Regions from separate parts of the Homo sapiens genome. Here region 2 is linked to region 1. The links are contacts of gene promoters, found by promoter capture Hi-C in human tissues and cell types (Jung and others, 2019). All regions are on one chromosome and are shown on one strand. Each heading gives the region's core, a stretch centred on a gene start or on the middle of the fragment in contact. The rest is flanking DNA. Distances are from core to core; before and after follow the strand shown. Region 1 holds the start of CCDC12 (coiled-coil domain containing 12). Region 2 holds the start of ARIH2 (ariadne RBR E3 ubiquitin protein ligase 2).

The links. Contacts are between HindIII fragments. The study calls those that stand out against the background at their distance.
Region 2: the fragment with the promoter of ARIH2 here is called in contact with the fragment with the promoter of CCDC12 in region 1 in 1 of the 25 tissues and cell types used here (small bowel).

Annotation. Positions count from the first base shown.
Region 1 is chr3:46,975,454-46,981,695 of GRCh38, forward strand. It overlaps CCDC12 (coiled-coil domain containing 12), which reads right to left and starts at 1,292. Exons shown (of 7, transcript NM_001277074.2): 1 at 1,184-1,292. The coding sequence starts at 1,279. It overlaps NBEAL2 (neurobeachin like 2), which reads left to right and starts at 4,213. Exons shown (of 54, transcript NM_015175.3): 1 at 4,213-4,459. The coding sequence starts at 4,409. RefSeq lists enhancers at 1-478, 479-1,180, 1,005-1,314, 1,884-2,584, 4,487-5,267 and 1 more and silencers at 1,405-1,544, 3,940-4,129, 4,230-4,569. The HindIII fragment of the contact is 31,501 bases long and covers 1-6,242 here.
Region 2 is chr3:48,915,031-48,921,272 of GRCh38, forward strand. It overlaps ARIH2 (ariadne RBR E3 ubiquitin protein ligase 2), which reads left to right and starts at 3,812. Exons shown (of 16, transcript NM_006321.4): 1 at 3,812-3,968. It overlaps ARIH2OS (ARIH2 opposite strand lncRNA), which reads right to left and starts at 4,355. Exons shown (of 1, transcript NR_161301.1): 1 at 2,758-4,355. RefSeq lists enhancers at 2,689-3,439, 3,245-3,714, 3,440-4,191, 4,192-4,942 and silencers at 3,885-3,984, 4,055-4,134. The HindIII fragment of the contact is 21,005 bases long and covers 1-6,242 here.

The DNA.
Region 1 (6,242 bases), core at 42-2,541:
AGGCACCAGCCATTGTGCCCGGCCCTCGTTCCCAATTTCTAAGGCCCACCCTTAGTTAGAAATAAATCTTTTCTTTTTTTTTTTTTTTTTTTTTTGAGACGGAGTCTCGCTCTGTCGCCCAGGCTGGAGTGCAGTGGCAGGATCTCGGCTCACTGCAAGCTCCGCCTCCTGGGTTGACGCCATTCTCCTGCCTCAGCTTCCCAAGTAGCTGGGACCACAGGCACCCGCCACCACGCCCGGCTAATTTTTTTGTATTTTTAGTAGAGACAGAGTTTCACCGTGTTAGCCAGGATGGTCTCGATCTCCTAACCTCGTGATCCGCCCACCTCGGCCTCCCAAAGTACTGGGCGCGTGAGCCACCGCGCCCGGCTAAATCTTTTATTTTCGATTTTTTTTTTTTTTTTTTTTTTGAGACGGAGTCTCGCTCTGTTGCCCAGGCTGGAGTACAGTGGCGAGATCTCGGCTCACTACAACCTCTGCCTCCCAGGCTCAAGCGGTTCTCCTGCCATAGCCTCCCGAGAAGCTGGGATTACAGGCGCGCACCACCACGCCCGGCTAATTTTTGTATTTTTAGTAGAGGCGGGGTTTCACCATGTTACCCAGCCTGGTCTCGAACTACTAACCTCAAGTGATCCGCCTGCCTCGGCCTCCCAAAGCACTGGGATTACAGGCGTGAGCCACCGTGCCCGGCCTCTTTTTGATTTTTGCACGAAACGACTCCGGCTGTATACCCACTGCTGTCACTTGCTGCCCTGTCCAAGGAGTGCTGCCGGACTGGGGAGTCTGTCTGACTCAGAATCGAAGGCGGGGGTTAAAGACCAGCTAGGCCATAGAGGAACGGAACAAATCACGCCTAACCCAACAAGCATCTGAACCTACAGGCAGCCCTAGATACCTACACGAGCAACACCCGGGAAGCAGGAGTCAGATGGACTGCGGGTCGCTGACCACTGCCTTGCCCACCCCCGCGCATGCGCGACGACCGCACCAGCGCCAGAGGAGTCCCACGCCAAGCAGCCCCAGACATCGTGGGAGGGCGCCGTCTTCTCGCGCATGCGTTAGCGCCCGCGCATGCGCGCCCTCGGCAGCTGTCTTTCCTTATTAGCCCTTTGCTCTCCTCAAGCGCGACCCGGACCCCGAACGCTGGACGCCTCAACTGCGACCCTCACTCCACACTTCTCACCTTGCGCCCGGTTTTCTCCCGTAGGGCCTTCAGCCGTTCCTTTCGCCGCAACGCCTCTTCCTCTAGCCGGCCCACACCAGCCGTAGTTGCCTCCATCTTGCCCGCGTACGCCCCTCCTTTTCTCCCGTCTTGCATCGCGCAGGCCTAAGGAGAGTGGATAAATGTCTCGCGGCCAATCCAAGGACGAGAATGAGAGACTGGGAGGTCCTGAAAGCCAATCAATGCGGGGTTATTATGGGCGAGCCCTCCCCGCCTTGCCCCGCCCCGCCCCGCCCCGCCCTTATTCTTCCGGACAACTTGCCTAGTGGGTGGGGAGCCAGCAAAAAAAAAAAAGAAAAAAAAAAAAGCTAAGGCTCGATTTATCCAACGCTGATCAGTGAAAGAGCAGCAAGTGGAATTCAGACCTGAGAGAAGGAGAAAAGAGTGCGTCGATCGCTCCGGTTTTGCCCAAGTACTAACCACACTAATCACTCCATGCTGGCCTCTTGGAATGCCCTGACTCATCCTTGTCCACTTGACCTGACAAGGCTCGAATGCCTTCAAGAAACCTTCCCTGGGCCGGGCGCGGTGGCTCACGCCTGTAATCCCAGCACTTTGGGAGGCCGAGGAGGGCGGACCACGAGGTCAGGAGATGGAGACCATCCTGGCCAACATGGTGAAACTCCATCTCTACTAAAAATACAAAAATTAACTGGGCGTGGTGGCGCGTGCCTGTAATCCCAGCTACTCGGGAGGCTGAGGCAGGAGAATCGCTTGAACCAGAGAGGCGGAGGTTGCAGTGAGCCGAGATCGTGCCACTGCACTCCAGCCTGGCAGCAGAGCAAGACTCCGTCTCAAAAAAAAAAAAAAAAAAAAAAAAGCCTTCCCTGATCCTCCACTTCGATCCCACCCTAATACAAGGTATGACTTACACCTCTGCAGCTGTCAGTGGCTCCCCGGACTCACCTGACAAGCGCCCCTAAGCCCCTCTGTGACCACTCTCAGCTCAGACAAAGCCTGCACAGTGAGGGGGACCTGACTGTATGGCTGTTTCCCTCTGGACTCAAAGATGATCCCCTCTCATTCCCATCCCCTCCTGGAGCAGCAAAGTCCTCAGGGTCAAGTTACCTTTCCCGGGGAAGAGCAAACCCCAACCTGGGTCCAGTGGGCCTCAAGTACTGCCCCCAATCCCCAGCTTAGAAAGACTTGGGGTGGCCTCGACTGCAAGTCGCCACAAGATTCATGGCTACCCAGCAGAAGCTGCCAGAGTCTTCTTTCCTGCATGAACTAGAGTGTCCTGATAACCGCGAGACCACTTAGGCTGAAGTCAAGATATTCTTTCAGTATGTGGGGGTCCCCAAAGCCACACCCCCTCTCACTTGGGAATAGGAGACCATGCCGCCCCCTCTCCACCTCCACTGCCAGGGGACAACTAGCCTCTTAGGCTGTTCCCTCCCTGAGTCTTCCCTTCCCAAGCTGGCTACAGGTGGACATCCACTCTTCCCCTTCCAACTCCCTTCAGAGGCCCATGGGCCACAGACTGCAGATCTAGCCCTCCCTTCACTAACCCTCTTGTCCTCACTAACCTGGGTCTGTCTAAGCCTTCTTCCCTGTAGTGGATGGGTTGCTCTGCCAAGGCCTGGCATGCAGTTTGGAGGTGCTCAGGAAACCTCAGCTCAGAGCTATGATGGATGAAGCAGGACAAAAGGCCAGAGGTGAACCAAGAAGCTGGGAGAACAAAACAGGACAGGGTCTCTGTTGTCTTGGCCAACCAAGGTCTAGGAGTCTCCAGACTGGTCAACTCCTGGAACGAGTAGCACCCCTCTGGGCCCAGAAAACTTCTCCCCAGCCCCAACAAAGAGCCTGATCCCTGCCCAACACCAGGGGTTGGGTCCCTGCCACCATCACCCCGTGCCCCTTTCCCCGTGTCCAGACTGTGAGGTAAGGGGATGGGGAAGGGGGCACGGGGTGATGGTGGCAGGGACCCAAAAAAGAGTCAGTCAAGCCTGGGTCCCTGCCCCTGCTGCCCAAGTGGTCCTCATTTGGTCAACTTGGGCCTCAGTTTCTCCATCTGTAAAACAGAGCCGGCCGGGTGCGGTGGCTCATGCCTATAATCCCAGCACTTTGGGAGGTCGAGGCGGGTGGATCATGAAGTCAGGAAATCCAGACCATCCTGGCTAACACGGTGGAACCCCGTCTCTACTAAAAATACAAAAAATTAGCTGGGCCTGGTGACACGCGCCTGTAGTCCCAGCTACTCAGGAGGCTGAGGCAGGAGAATCACTTGAACCCAGGAGGCGGAGATTGCAGTGAGCCGAGATCGAGTCACTGCACTCCAGCCTGGGCGACAGAGTGAGACTCTGTCTCAAAAACAAACAAAAAACAGAGCCATGAGGCACCCACCTGTTGAGGTTAAAGAAACAACATATGTGAAGCAAGTTCTGGGCCCTGGAGTTGGGGAATGGGGGGAGCCCCTCCACTGGAGCGTTTGGGAAGGCTTCCTGGAGGAGGGAGGGGGACCCGTGGCAACGGTCTAAGCCTCTCTGGGATCTGGGAGGGCACCGCGGCCCCGAAGGTATTTCAGGCTAGTCCTGCTACTCTCTAACTTCCCGCCATCACACTCCACAAACAGCTAGAGCTCAAAAGTTGCGTTTCGGTCTTCCCATAAAGCGACAGAGTAGCACCTGGCATTTGATAAGCGCTACAAGGGGTCGTCATGGTGGTGGTGGAGATTATTGTTGAAGGACCCTCGCCACCTCCACGCGGCCCGCCGCCCCTTCCCTGAATGGCGGCAAATGCAGTCAGGCGAGCAGCGTCCTGGGCGGATTCAGACCCTGGGGAAGTCTGGAATTCCTCACCCCGACCCTCGTCCCGGAGGCTCAGGCTGGCCCTTCCAATGGCACTGGTGGGGCAGGGCAGCGGGGCACCCTCCCGGGCCGCCCGGCCCATAGGCCCCTCCTCCTGCCAGGCTCTCCGCCCTTTACATGGTCCCAGGAGAGGCGGGGCGGCGGTGACTGCAGCGAAGTGCAGGAAGCTGGGCGGCGGCCGGCAGTGAGGAGGAGGAGCGAGCAGACTTGGGTGGCTCTGCGCCGCGGAGGCCACAGCCGCAGACTTCCCCAGTAGTACCGCGCCGCTCCGCCCCGGAGTGACGCCCTCCGCCCATGGGCCTGGCCGAGGGCAACCGGCGGGCGGCGCGGAGGAGGCGGCGACAGGTGGCGCGCAGCAGGGCCGGAGCCGGGCCGGGCCATGGCCGCCTCGGAGCGGCTGTACGAGTTGTGGCTGCTCTACTACGCGCAGGTGAGCCCGCCCCGCCCCGCGCCCGCACCCGCACCCGCGGTGCCCCCAGCTTCGCGCGCCCCGCGCCTGCTGCACCTGGCGCCCCGCGCCGCTGGGGCCGCGTAGCCGCGCGCGCGGGCGCGCGCGCGCAGGGCATGCTCCGGCTCCGCACACACGTGTGTGCCCCCAGCCCGCCGGGTGCCTCTGGCACTTATGCCTTGGGGACAGAGCTCGCGGTCGTGCACTTCATAGCAACCCACCCCCGCGAGCAGGACCGTGCAGCCTGAGTCTTTCTTGCTAGAGGAGAGTGGCCTGGGCCGAGGCGGCCGGACACTTGGCCTTTTTACAAATGGGGAAACTGAGACCTGGAGAGACCTGGAGACTGGCCAGGAGGCTAGGGGGAGGGGGACTCAATTTGTCTATGAGCTGCCTCTCCCTTGGGCGCGGCCTGATTGGGTGGTCGTGGCCAACGGGTCTGGGGGTGTGGGCCAAGGTAGGGAGGTGTGTGGAAGGGGAATGCTCCCACTTCAGGTCCTTCTTGAGTTGCATCCCCCCACACCCCAGCGAACAGGCTGTGATAAGCTCTTCCCTGACTTGAAATGACCCACCCCACCCCACCCCCATTCTGAGGGGTAGACCCAGGACCTCTCTAGGAGCAGAAGAAAAGGTTTTCCTCTGGATGCCCAGGGTGAGGGTGGGTCCTTGAGGCCCTGAGGGATGTCTGAAAAGGTTGGAGGGAGGCCCGTTCCTCCTGAGCTCCCCACCCATCTCAGAAAATACTTCAGGTGGAGTCAGAAGGTGAGGGGAGTGACTCAGACGTGGGTGTCCCATCAGCTGAGAACCTGGTATCACTCACACCGTCTCACACACATAGTCCCCCATTTTCCTTCTGTACCCACAGCAGGGAGGGATCCCAGGGTAACACTCCCCTCCCCTTCACCCAGCACCTCCCTCCCTGCACCTGCCTGGCATCATGCTCCTGGCTCAGGTGTGCCCTGGGCACAATGGACCATTGTGTGCCCTGAACAGTTTGTCAGTGGGGGGAATTCATGCTCAGACACGCTGGCCCTCCATAAGGAGGCTGGCCCACTGTCTTCCACGGACCTGGAGTCCAGGCCAGAAGGACCACAGCCTCTTCAGTCCGCTCAGGTTGTGAGAGGTCCAGGCCCCAGCAGGAGGCCAGGCATGGAGTAGAGTCCCTCTTTGGTATAACTCAGATCGAACTCGACTTCTGAGCCTCTGCTTCCTGCCTGTAAAACTGACACAGCCCTGGCCGGGCACGGTGGCTCACACCTGTAATCCCAGCACTTTGGGAGGCCGAGGCGGGCAGATCACAAGGTCAGGAGATCGAGACCATCCTGGCCAACATGGTGAAACCCCATCTCTACTAAAATACAAAAATTAGCCGGGCGTGGTGGGGTGTGCCTGTAATCCCAGCTACTCGGGAGGCTGAGGCAGGAGAATCGCTTGAACCAGGGAGGCAGAGGTTGCAGTGAGCCGAGATCGCGCCACTGCACTCCAGCCTGGTGACAGAGTGAGACTCCGTCTCAAAAAAATAAAATAAAAATAAAAAACTGACACAGCCCTGACCTCAGGGGCTTCCTGGACTCTGTGGAGAGGTAGCCATTATAGCTGGTCCAGACCAGAGAAGGCTCCTGTTTTCCTGGCCCCATTGGGTCCCCTCGCCCCAGCTTCTCTGCCTGCATCCCCAGTGGTTGTGAAGGAGCAGAGGGTTTGAAGAGAAGCCTACCCTAGTCCTCCTTCCTCGGACTGCCCCATAGCTATGGGCAGGCTCTAGGTGCAT
Region 2 (6,242 bases), core at 2,562-5,061, 1.9 Mb after region 1:
GCCAACATGGAGAAACCCCGTCTCTACTAAAGATACAAAATTAGCCAGGCATGGTGGTGCATGCCTGTAATCCTAGCTACCTGGGAGGCTGAGCGGGGAGAATTGCTTGAATCCGGGAGGCGGAGGTTGTGGTGAGCCGAGATCGCACCATTGTACTGCAGCCTGGGCAACAAGAGCAAAATTCCATCTCAAAGAAAAAAAAACAGAAAAAATAGCTGAACATGGTGTGCACGCCTGTCATCCTGACATCTCAGCTACTATGGAGGCTGAGGCACAAGAATCACTTGAACCCAGGAGGTTGCAGTGAGTTGAGATCATGCCACTGCACTCCAGCCTGGGCGATAGAGTGATACTCTGTCTCAAAAAAAAAAAAAAAAAGACCTTTGCCCTTCAAATCCAGCCACCATGTTACCAGGAAGCACAGGCCACATGGAGAGATCATGCATGTGTATGTTCTGGCTGACAGCCCCAGCTAGGCCCCCAGCTGACATCACCCACCAGAAGTATGAGTAAACAACTTTGCCTATGATTCCACTCCCCAGTCTTTGAGTCTTCTTGCTGAGGCCCCCTCAGCTGTGGAGCTGAGATAAACCTTCCCATTGTGGCTTGTCTGGATTCCTGTTCCAAAGAAACCATGAGAGACTTTGTATATTTTATATGCATTCATATTTTATTTACTTTTTCTTTTTTGAGACAGAGCTACTGTGTTGCCCAGGCTGGAGTGCAGTGGTGCAATCTCGGCTCGCTGCAACCTCCGCCTCCCGGGTTCAAGTTATTCTCCCTGCCTCAGCCTCCCGAGTAGCTGGAATTACAGGCATGCACCACCATGCCTGGCTAATTTTTGTATTTTTTAGTAGAGACAGGGTTTTGCCATGTTGGTCAGGCCGGTCTGGAACTCCTGACCTCAGGCGATCCGCCCGCCTCCACCTCCCAAAGTGCTGGGATTACAGGTGTGAGCCACCACACCCGGCCCCTATCCTATTCTTATCACTTGAGTATATCACAAATAACCTTTCCTTGTCAATAGGTGCCTTAGTACAGCATTTTTTTTTCTTTTTTTGAAGACAGGTTCTGGCTCTGTCCCCCAGGCTGGAGTGCAGTAGCCCGATCTCTTGCTCACTGCAGCCTCCACATCCTGGGTCTTAAGTGATCCTCCCACCTCAGCCTCCCAAGTAGGTGGAGCTATAAGCACATCCAGCTAACTTGTATTTTTTGTAGAGACGGGGTTTCACCATGTTGCTCAGGCTGGTCTTGAACTCCTAGGCTCAAGTGATCCACCTGCCTCAGCCTCCCAAAGTGCTGGGATTACAGGCGTGAGCCACCACACCTGGCCAAAACTTTTTCTTTTTTTTGTAGACATGGAATCTCACTATGTTGCCCAGGCTGGTCTCCAACTCCTGGGCTCAAGCAATCCTCTCACCTTGGCTTCCCAAAGTGCTGGGATTACAGGCTTGAGCCACCATGCCCTGCCACCCAGTATGATTTATTTCATTTTTTTTGGTAAAGTGAAAGCAAGTTTATTAGAGAAGTAAAGAAACAAAGGAGACCAGGAGCAGTGGCTCACGCCTGTAATCCCAGAACTTTGGGAGGCCGAGGTGGGCGGATCAAGGAGTCAAGAGATCCAGACCATCCTGGCCAACATGATGAAACCTTGTCTCTACTAAAAATACAAAAATTACCATCCTGGCTAACACGGTGAAACCCCGTCTCTACTAAAAATACAAAAAAAATTAGGCGTGGTGGCGGGCGCCTGTAGTCCCAGCTACTCGGGAAGCTGAGGCAGGAGAATGGCGTGAACCCGGGAGGCGGAGCTTGCAGTGAGCCTAGATCGCGCCACTGCACTCCAGCCTGGGCAACAGAGAGAGACTCCGTCAAAAAAAAAAAAAAAAAAAAAAAATTAGCTGGGCGCGGTGGTGCGCGCCTGTAGTCCCAGCTACTCGGGAGACTGAGGCAGGAGAATCACTTGAACCCAGGAAGCGGAGGTTGAAGTGAGCGGAGATAGCGGCTCTCTCACTGCACTCCAGCCTGGGCGACAGAGCGAGACTCCGTCTCAAAAAAAAAAAAAAAAAAGTAATTGCTACTCCATAGGCAGAGCAGTCCACCCGACAAGGTTTTTGTTGTTGTTGTTGTTTGAGACAGAGTCTCGCTCTGTCCCCCAGGCTGGAGTGCAGTGGCGCGATCTCTGCTCGCTGCAACCTCCGCCTGCCGAGTTCAAGCAATTCTCCTGCCTCAGCCTCCCGAGTAGCTGGGACTACAGGCGCCCACCATCACGCCCGGCAAATTTTGTAAATTTTTAGTAGAGACAGGGTTTCACCATGCTGGTCAGGCCAGTCTCGAATTCCTGACCTCGTGATCTGCCGGCTCCGGCCTCCCAACGTGCTGGGATTACAGGCGTGAGCCACGGTGCCCGGCCACGCGGCATGATTTTTAATGGCTTTCTACATTGTATGGTTTGTTATTGTTGTTTTGAGACAGGGTCTCCTTCTATCACCGATGCTGGACTGCAGTGGTGCGATCTTGGCACTCTGCAGCCTCGACCTCCTCGGCTCAAGCGATCCTATATCACCTCAGCCCCCTGAGTAGCTGGGATGCACAGGTGTGTGCCACCTCGCCCAGCTAATTTTTAATTTTTTTGTAGAAAGGAGGGGGGTCTCACTACATCAAATTCTTGGGCTCAAGCGATCCTCCCACCTCGGCTTCCCAAAGTGCAGGGATTACAGGCATGAGCCACAGCGACCAGCCAGCACAGGTGTCTTTATTTGTTTTATTTTTTATTTTATTTTATTTTATTTTGAGACAGAGTCTCGCTCTGTCGCCCAGGCTGGAGTGCAGTGGCGCCATCTCGACTCACTGCAAGCTCCGCCTCCCGGGTTCACGCCATTCTCCTGCCTCAGCCTCCCGAGTAGCTGGGACTACAGGCGCCCGCCACCACGTCCGGCTAATTTTTTTGTACTTTTAGTACAGACGGGGTTTCACCGTGTTAGCCAGGATGGTCTCGATCTCCTGACCTCGTGATCCACTCGCCTCGGCCTCCCAAAGTGCTGGGATTACAGGCTTGAGCCACCGCGCCCGGCCTGCACAGGTGTCTTGAATATGTATATACGCGACTCCAGTATGGTTGGAAATGATTTGATTTGTTGTCTATGGAATTGCACAACCTGGAGCCTTCCTAACATCAGCGGCTTCATACTGGCATTTCCATTGTGGTGCAGCAACAATCTGAGTGAGCCTCCGTCTCTAGCCACATCATTTGACAACCGGTCCCAGAAGGTAACTGGAAGTCATGATGACAACTCCTATACTGTGAAAAGAAACTGCAAGCAAGGCAGTTAAGATGCAATCTTGCACGGTGACCGTAAGTCGGAGAACTGCGCGGCGAACGAGGCCTCGGCAGGGGAAGCGAAAGCCTGGTGTGGTTGCGGCTCTGGGGCCACCCTGCGACCGCCTCGGGGTGTAGGCAGAATTTCCCGGCCCAGCTCCCCTCTGACCAGATAGCGGCCGAGAAACAATGGTTATCTGCTCCACTGACGCCAGGATGTCTTCTCCGTGCCCGATCCCGGAGTACAAACAGTGAAATGAGAAGCCGGTGAGAAACGCGCTGGTTAAAAACATCTCGACGGGAGACGCTGGTAGGCGAATAGTGGCTCCAGACGCGGTCGGCGCCTGCCGTACCCTGGTCAGACTCTGGGTCAGAGCGCTAAGTTTCAAGGAGGCGGCGCTAAACAGGCCCTCTAGCCGGGAGCCTGTCGCGACCCGAGCGACCGTGGGTCGACCCCGATCCGGAAGTGACGCAACGGCGCCAAGCACTTCCGGAGCTGTGGGGACGACTCTTCTGGAGGAAGCAGCGCGGGCTTGACCGGCGTCGGCCCGCCGCCTCCGCTGCCGCTTCGCCCCAATCCGGTCCCTCTGGCCCGGCCTGACCCGGTCTGGCTTGTTCGGGCTCAGCGGCCGCGAGGCCGCAGCTCCCGGTAAGTGCGCGGCGCACGTCACGGCCTTGTTTACCTTGGCTGGCCGCTGGGGGGGCCTCTCCGCGCGCCTCCCTGGCCGGGCCGGGACTCCGCCTTCGCCGTCGCCCGGGAGGCCCGGGCGCTCCCCGTCGCCGGCACGTTGTCCGAGCATTACCCGCCGTCAGCGGCCGGGCGCCCAGCGTGTGTCTGCCTTTTTTCCTCCCGCCGCCTTCTCAGCTCTCGGAAAGGTCAGAGGCCACCGCCTCTGACCAACCGGCGCCGGCACATCTAGGCCCTCTCTCCCTGTCTGGCGCGGCGGGGAAACGCGCCGCCTCGGGGCTCACCACTCGAGTCATCTTTGGGAGCTCTCGCAGCGCTGCCCGCGCGGTTTAACGCCCGCCTGTGGAGGGTATCCCCAGCTCGCGGGCTCCGCGTCCGCGCGAATATCCCGGAGCCCGCGGCGCCCCTAGGGATGTGCGGCCCCGGAGCTGTGCCGCCGCCTCGCCAGAAGCTGGTTGGGCAGCCGCGTTCTTGGATGACTTCTCCTTAGTACTGTTCATTGCCTGGTCCCATAGAACTTTCTGTCATAGCGACATGTTCTTTACCTTTGCTGTTCAGCATGGTAGCTACTAGCCACACGTGGCCGTTAAGCATTTGACCTGTAGGCTAGTGCACCTGAGAAACTAAATTTTAAATTTTACTTACTTTTTAAGTGTAATTAAATTTAAATAACCACATGTGGCTAGTGGTCACCGTATTAGAAAAGACAGATACAAAGTGTAGGATTTTGAAACGAAATTGCTGATTTCTAGTTTTGTGCCAAGTCGTTTTTCTTCGGAGGTGTAGTTAGTAAATGACCTGAATTCAGCGCTAGTGATCATATCTGGAGTAAACGTCTTCAGACTCACTAAAACTTACGTGTTCTGTGCGTGGTGGGCAAGCCCAGGATGGTTGGTTGTTAGGTCCCCTGAACATGTGACTTTGGCTCTGGAGGAAATTTTTTTTTTTTTTTTTTTTGGTGGGCGGGACAAAGTTGCTGTCACCAGGCTGGAGTGCAGTGGCGGCGATCACAGCTAACTGCAGCCCCGACTTTCTGGGCTCAAGTGATCCTCCTTTCTTAGCCTCCTAAGTAGCTGGGACCACAGGCACGTACCACCACACCTGGCTAATTTGTAAAATTTTTTGTGGATACGTGATCTTAATAGGTTGCCTAAGCTGGTCTTGAACTGCTGGGCTCAAGCTATCCTCCCGGTTTGACCTCCTAAAGTGCTGGGATTACAGGCGTGAGCCACTGTGCATGACCTTTAAAAAAATTTTTTTTGAAAAAGTGCCCGGCCCACTTTTTCAAGTAGAATTCGGATATTTAACTTTGAGATGATTAAAAATTAAATTTTCATTTAAATGTGCACCTAGAACATTTAGTATGAAATGGAGTTCTCTCTCTTTTTTTTTTGGAGGAGCCTGGAGTTTTCCCCACCTAAATATTTGGTTGGTGAGAAGCCTGTGAGCAATTTCTTTTTTTTTTTTTTTTTTTGACACGGAGTCTCACTGTGTTGCCCAGGCTGGAGTGCAGTGGTGCAGTCTCGGTTCACTGCAGCCTCCATCTCCCAGATCAAGCAGTTCTGCCTTAGCCTCCCGAGTAGCTGGGATTACAGCTGGGATTACACCCAGGCTGGTTGGAGGGCAGTGGCGTGATCATGGCTCGCTGCAATCTCCTGGACTCAAATAATCCTCCTCACTTTGGGAGGCCGAGGCGGGCGGATCACGAGGTCAGGAGATCGAGACCATCCTGGCTAACACGGTGAAACCCCATCTCTACTAAAAATACAAAAAATTAGCCAGGCATGGTGGCGGGCGCCTGTAATCCAGTGAGCCGAGATCGCGCCACTGCACTCCAGCAAGACTCTCAAAAAAAAAAAAAAAGAAAGAAAAGAAAAGAAATATTGTCCCCTTGGAACAAGATCAGCACTTTTTCTTTCTTTCATTTATTTATTTTTATTTTTGAGTCCCGCTCTGTCTCTCAGGCTGGAGTGCAGTGGCGCGATCTCGGCTCACTGCAACCTCCGCCTCCTGGGTTCAAGCGATTCTCCTGCCTCAGCCTCCTGAGTAGCTGGGATTATAGGCGCATGCTACCACGCCCAGCTAATTTTTGTATTTTTAGTAGAGACAGGATTTCATCATGTTGATTAGGCTGGTCTCGAACTCTTGACCTTGTGATCTGCCACCTTAGCCTCCCAAAGTGTTGGGATCACAGGCGTGAGCCACCGTGCCCGGCCCACTTTTTCAAGTAGAATT